Regions from separate parts of the Homo sapiens genome. Here region 2 is linked to region 1. The links are contacts of gene promoters, found by promoter capture Hi-C in blood cells and fetal thymus (Javierre and others, 2016). All regions are on one chromosome and are shown on one strand. The core of a region is centred on a gene start or on the middle of the fragment in contact, and the rest is flanking DNA. Distances in the headings are between cores, read along the strand shown.

Evidence for each region. Contacts are between HindIII fragments. The CHiCAGO score rates a contact against its expected background, and 5 or more counts as called.
Region 2: a contact is called between the fragment with the promoter of KMT2A here and the fragment with the promoter of RPS25 in region 1, in 8 of 17 cell types (non-activated CD4 T cells, total CD4 T cells, naive CD8 T cells and 5 more). The highest score is 8.2, in non-activated CD4 T cells.

The regions. Positions count from the first base shown.
Region 1 is chr11:119,016,862-119,019,904 of GRCh38, reverse strand. It overlaps RPS25 (ribosomal protein S25), which reads left to right and starts at 1,562. Exons shown (of 5, transcript NM_001028.3): 1 at 1,562-1,623; 2 at 1,852-1,947; 3 at 2,360-2,543. The coding sequence starts at 1,621. It overlaps TRAPPC4 (trafficking protein particle complex subunit 4), which reads right to left and starts at 1,139. Exons shown (of 5, transcript NM_016146.6): 1 at 935-1,139; 2 at 588-762. The coding sequence starts at 1,109. RefSeq lists enhancers at 568-1,266, 1,521-1,750, 1,771-1,840 and a silencer at 1,161-1,280. The HindIII fragment of the contact is 1,015 bases long and covers 616-1,630 here.
Region 2 is chr11:118,435,054-118,438,074 of GRCh38, reverse strand. It overlaps KMT2A (lysine methyltransferase 2A), which reads right to left and starts at 1,583. Exons shown (of 36, transcript NM_001197104.2): 1 at 1,131-1,583. The coding sequence starts at 1,562. RefSeq lists enhancers at 1-614, 615-1,613, 2,275-2,414, 1,614-2,611 and a silencer at 1,485-1,964. The HindIII fragment of the contact is 8,732 bases long and covers 1-3,021 here.

The sequences.
Region 1 (3,043 bases), core at 313-2,812:
GTGCCACGCTTACTAAGCTTGTGTTTAAGCAAAGGCCGGCACATCTGATATCACAATTGAGAGCAGAAAAAGTTTAAAGGTCATTTAGTTAAACTGGCTTTCTTTAAATATGAAGAAACTAAGGCTCAGAGAAGAGAAGTTGACTTTAAGTAAGATGACACCTCGGCCGGGCGCGGTGGCTCACTCCTGTAATCCCAGCACTTTGGGAAGCCGAGGCAGGTGGATCACCTGAGGTCAGGAGTTTGAGACCAGCCTGGCCAACATGGCAAAACCCCTCTCTACTAAAAATACAAAAATTAGCTGGTCGTGGTGGCACGCGCCTGTAATCCCAGCTACTCGGGAGGCTGAGGCAGGAGAATCGCTTGAACCTGGGAGGCAGAGGCTGCAGTGAGCCGAGATCCCGCCACTGCGCTCCAGCCTGGGTAACTCCGCGGCCCCTCCCCACCCAGCAAAAAAAGATGACACCACTGCCGTTATTACCTAAAATCTAGATCTGGATCGGTTGCGTTTTTCATAACACCAGAACGACGATTTAAGAAAAGGTAGACAAATTACAAGCGCTGCCGTTCAGGAGACGGGGGACTTACGAGTGGAACATGGAGGCCAGCATAAGCTTCTCATTAGAAGTGAGGCGGGGCCGGCCAAATCGAATGGACACCGGGTAATTAGCAGGGTTACCCAGATACTCCAGCACCTCTTTCCCGTCGGCCGTGTACCTGCCATTCACGTCCATGCCATTGATGGCCAGCACTGCATGACCCACTGCAGAGGTGAAGCTAACGGTCAGCGAAGGTGCAGCCCGGGGATTCCGCCGAGGGGACAAGGGACCCGACACAACCCCTTTTCCCCCAACCCCGCACCTACAACCAGCCCACTTCTACAGCACTGGGGCCCTCCCACCCCCGCACCCGCCACGGGCCCGAGCCTAGCCCACCTCGGATGCCGTCCCGCTGGCCGAAAGCAACCAACACACGCTCATCGTGTAGCTTGAGCAGCAGATCCAGCGGATAACTGAAAGTTTTCTCAGCCTCAGCCCGTGGCGCGTAGCTGTCCAACTGGTAAATCAAGCCGCCAGCTTTGTTCACCACATACACACTAAAAATCGCCATCGCTGCCTTGCCGCTCGGAAACTGGTATTCAGCCTCTACCCGACGGCCCCTCCCCGGAACCGCATCACAGCACTTGCCGCCGGCCCCACCCCAGCCTCCTCCTCCTCCTCCTCCTCCTCCCGCGCCCCCCGTGCAGCCACCTGCTGCACTTGCGCACTGGGAGCGACACGCTCGGGCATAAGTAGTGCCGGAAAGTTAGCTGCCGAGACCTGGTGGATTGCTTTTCGTTTATCAGTGCAGGAAAACAGCGCTATAGTATGCGTCACAACTAGCGCAGACTCCGGCAGTATTTAGGCGGTGCGGCTTGGGAACTAGAATCCACTTCCTGTCTTCCGCCTCAGGCTAGAGGGCGAGCGCTTCGCCGTGGGACTTCTTCTGCCTGGCTCCGCCTTTTGCCCCGGAAGTACTCACAGCGGACGGTGGTTTTTGGGCCCGTTTCTGAGCAGCGCTTCCTTTTTGTCCGACATCTTGACGAGGCTGCGGTGTCTGCTGCTATTCTCCGAGCTTCGCAATGGTAAGCTTCAGGGGTGTGAAGTCGCCGGCGTTCTTGGGTTTGAGGACTCAGTGGGGAGAGCCTTCGGCGGGAGCGCTCCTTGGCCTGCCGGCCTCGGTTGCAGGGCGGGCGCGGTTATTGCTTGGCCCATGTGCTCTGGTGGTGGAGTTTGCGGGGGCTGAGGGCGCAGTATTAGGGGACTTTGGCGCTATTTGAGGACCTGGTTGCATTCCCGCTGCCCTCCTACAGCCGCCTAAGGACGACAAGAAGAAGAAGGACGCTGGAAAGTCGGCCAAGAAAGACAAAGACCCAGTGAACAAATCCGGGGGCAAGGCCAAAAAGAAGGTAGAAATAAGACCTCTCTGAAAGAGACTAGGGGTAACTCTCTCGTAATCCTCTAGTAATAGGTAACTTGTATAGTAAGTGGTTTTTCAGGTGTAGATTTCTAGAGTCAAAATGTGAGAGTTTATCTTCCCGTCACCACTCGTTCTTTTTCCCATTAGGATCATGAAAATGGGTCTGTTGTGCGAAGTGTCTGCCGCTGTGCCTGCTGTGTTATTTTTAACTGATCTAGTGGGGCTCGGCCCCTGTTTGAAGGCCAAAAACGTGTCGGTGTTTTTTTTTTGTTTTTGTTTTAGTAATGTGTAATTTATCCTTGATAACGGTGGAACAGATTTCTCTGACGCAGATTACTCGAGAGGGAAAGGGTGCTTCTGCCAGAAATACTAACTTGTTTCTGTTTTGTTTTGGTGAGCAGAAGTGGTCCAAAGGCAAAGTTCGGGACAAGCTCAATAACTTAGTCTTGTTTGACAAAGCTACCTATGATAAACTCTGTAAGGAAGTTCCCAACTATAAACTTATAACCCCAGCTGTGGTCTCTGAGAGACTGAAGATTCGAGGCTCCCTGGCCAGGGCAGCCCTTCAGGAGCTCCTTAGTAAAGGTGAGGGGTGTATCCTACATGTGTGTTTTTGTAGGTTAAATTGTCTTGACCATGTTAAGCATCTTCAGTGGTTTTGCTGGAAAAGCAGAATTAAAAAAAAAAAGCGTGGCTTGACCATTGGCTGTTAGTAATGTAATTCTGACGTCTTACTCCTGATCCTGAGATGAATTCTCAGGGTTCTTAGCCACTTTTGTGCCGTGGACCCTGTGGCAGTTTAGTGAAGCCCAAGGATCTTTTATGTTTCGAGTAAATGGATGCATAGAATTACAGGGACAACCGTTTTTGAAATAATTAGATTACTATTTTGAAACAACTTTGAAAATGTTTAAAACCTTTATGGTAAATATTTTGTTGATGTATTAAATTTTAAAACCAGAAATTTAGTACGGTCTACTCAGTAGTATGGTCTGATTACCATAATTCCACAATAATAAGGCTCAGCTAACTATAGTGACTGAACGTCTATAATTCTAGCACTTTGGGAGGCCAAGGCGGGTGAA
Region 2 (3,021 bases), core at 334-2,833, 580 kb after region 1:
AGCCCCAGGATTGGCCTAGGAAAAGGTGGATCAATAATGAAATGACGAGAAGAGAAGGGCGGGAGGGAGCTCGGGTTGGAGACTGCGTGCTCTCAGGCGCAGTGGGTGGGGTAGGAGAGCAGCTGCTTCCCCTGGGAGGATGCTGCCTCAGTCCCCCAACAAACACCTCCCCTCACAGGGGCCCCCTTCCCCAGAGCTGGAGGGAAAGCCTGCCTCCTCTCCAAGGGGAGTGGTGGAAAGCTGCTCTTCTCTAAGCCTAGGGGACAGTGGACTATTTTCCCCTCCAAGATGCCACTAATCCTTCATTCTAAAGGAGGGAAAGGGTGGAGTGAAGGTAGAGTAATTCCCGGCTACCAATAGGCTAGAAACTGTAGCCCTGTAAGACGGGGCGGGGGGGGGAAGAGACTGCTGTATGAGGAATCACCGTTATCTTCAGAGGGAAAGGAGGTGAGACCAGGCAAGGTGCAGAGGAGAGATTTTCCCCGGTGGGGTAGGGCGGGATGGGGGAGGATCGGTCTGCTTGGGGTGGGGGTAGAGGGTGGAGGTGAAGGAAGGGGGAGTGGCTGGCAGTATAGGGACCTGGCCCGGGGATGGCGCGAGGGTTCATCGGGTTTTCGAAAGCAAGGTGCTGGAAGGGACACGATCCCCAAGGGCCAGGAGAACGTGGCCCTGGATGAGGCCATCACCCGAGAGACGCCCGAGAGGAAAACTGCCCTAGGAGTAACACATCTGCCCAGAGAGGGAGGCGGGGATGTGGCGGGATCAGGTCTCTAGGAGGGAGGGAGGGAGGAATCTTGCTCGGATGAGGTAATCTGTGAAAGGGAGGAGGGGTTCAGTCCCGGGATGGGAAACCCCGGCGAGGGGGTCTGTGCCAAGGGATTTGGGGAAGGGTCAGGGGGAGGAGAGCGGGGGGCAAACGCCCTCAGCCAGATGGGCCCAAACCCCGGGGTGGGGGCGCCTGGGGGTCTGCAGCCCTGCATGGGGGTCCCAAGATGGGAGAGCCATTCGCCCCGGGTCAGGGACCCCGAGATGGTCCCAGAATTGGGATGCTCCTCAATCCCGGATGGGGGAGGGGAGGGGGCTCCGCAGAGGGTCGAGACCCCGGACCTGGGGGTTCCTCGCCCCCTTACCTCTCCGCTGCCGCCTCCCCCGCCGCTCTCCCCAAACACGGCCCGGAACCGGCGCAGGTTGGTGCCGATGGCGGCCGAGACCTGCAGCGCCGCGTCGAAGCCCGGGCCCACCCGGAGCAGGGCCGGCCCTGAAGAGGCTGAGGACGATGACGAAGACGAAGACGAGGCGGACGACGAGGAGGCTGCTGAGGCGGCGGCCGCTCCCCCTGGAACCCCAGCCCCGCTGCTTCCCGCCGCCGCCGCCGCGGCCGCCACAGCCGGGGGGGAGGGGGGCGCCCCGGGGCCGCCACCGCCGACCGGGGGCCCGGGGGGAAGCAGCAGGGCCGGGACGCGTTGCCGCGGGGCGCCCCCTAGGCCCCGGCGCCCCCCGCCGCCGCCGCCCCCGGTGGTCCCGGGTCGGGCGGGGAAGCGCCACCGACAGCTGTGCGCCATGTTCGCCCCGTGAAGTGAAGCAGCGAGAGGGAGAGGCGACAACACAGGGGGGCGGGGAGGCGGAGGGGGGGGCACGGGGCCCCGGAACCTGCCTAACCAGCTCTGCGCCGCCCGGCCGCCTGCACCCTGCCGGCCGCTATGCAGAGCGCCGGGCCGCGCCCGCCAGCCCCGCAATCTGTATAGCGGCCTCGGGCCTCCGCCTCTGACGCCTGGGCGCTGCAACTCCATCCCGAGGCCCGGGCCGCCGCCTCCTGCCCGCCCGCCGGCCCCGCAACCTGGATAACTGCATGCCCCGCCCTCCGGGAGAGGCATTGCTCGGGAAAAGGAGGGGGGAAGGAAGCCCGGGAGCCCGGAGCAGAGCGCGGGTTCCGGAGAGAGGGGGAGGGGGCGAGGACTACGCGGAGGATGGAGGCGTAGGGAGCCGGGCCGCCTGCAGCCTTGAGCGCCGAGAGGCCGATTACACACGTTCCCGGGACGCGCTGGGAATCGAACAGCCCGGGAGAGCAGCTTCCAGTATAACGCGGCGGCTGGGTCGGGGAGCAGTGAGCCTTCTCCTCCGCCCCAGGGCACGGATACAAGATGGGTTAGCCCGAATTGAACGCTTCTAGAATAAAAGAGCCCTTATTGTACTACATGCAAAACAGAAGCGCTGCCCAGTTTACTATATGCAAAACAGAAAGGCCCTCAATGAACGCACTTTAAAAAATAAAAAAGGAGCCCCTCCCATTTTCATGCTGGAGCTCTTTCCAAAAAGCACACACCGAGTGGCAGGTCTCCTGCCACCTCCTCGCTCTACTGTGCACTCGTCTGGCTTTCGTGCCCTTCTGCAGGGAGTTGGGTTGTGTTTCTCCAGCCCGGGCACTGAGGCCACGGCGTGCTCCGCTAACGACGCGGTGTTACAACGAAGCTGAAGCTGGGTGGCTAACGGGGCCTGGAGGGAAGAGGCGGGCAAAAGCGCCCCCGCCCCTTCTTCCTCCGGTCTCTGCCTGCCGCTGCATGCAAAGCAGACCCTAATGTATGCACGCAGAGGGAGGGGGGCTCGCGAGCACGTTTCTGATTAAGAGAGGGGGAGGAGGAGAGCGTTGGGCATTATGATACACTGGGTGGAAGGGGCCCGCCGGCGGCGAGCTCTGTGCGCGGGGTTAGTAAGCTGAGGGGGGAGGGGGAAAGAAGGAGGCGAGTTAGGGAGGGGAATGAATATCCACCGGGTTTACTTTATTGCGGGAAAGAGGGGAGGGCGCCTCGAGCATAGCGTTAGACGCCTGCAAGGCTGGGAAAGCCGAGAGGGTAGGGAGGGGTTTGTGTCGGGAGAACTTGCGTTGGCTGAGGCTGGGGGATCGATACACAGCCTGCAGGCCCCGGGGCAGCCTCCATCCCCCAAGCCGAGGGGGAGTTCGCTGGAAGGTCATGCAGCCTTCCTGGACTCCCGCACCGGTACAGCGCACTGCATGTAATATTA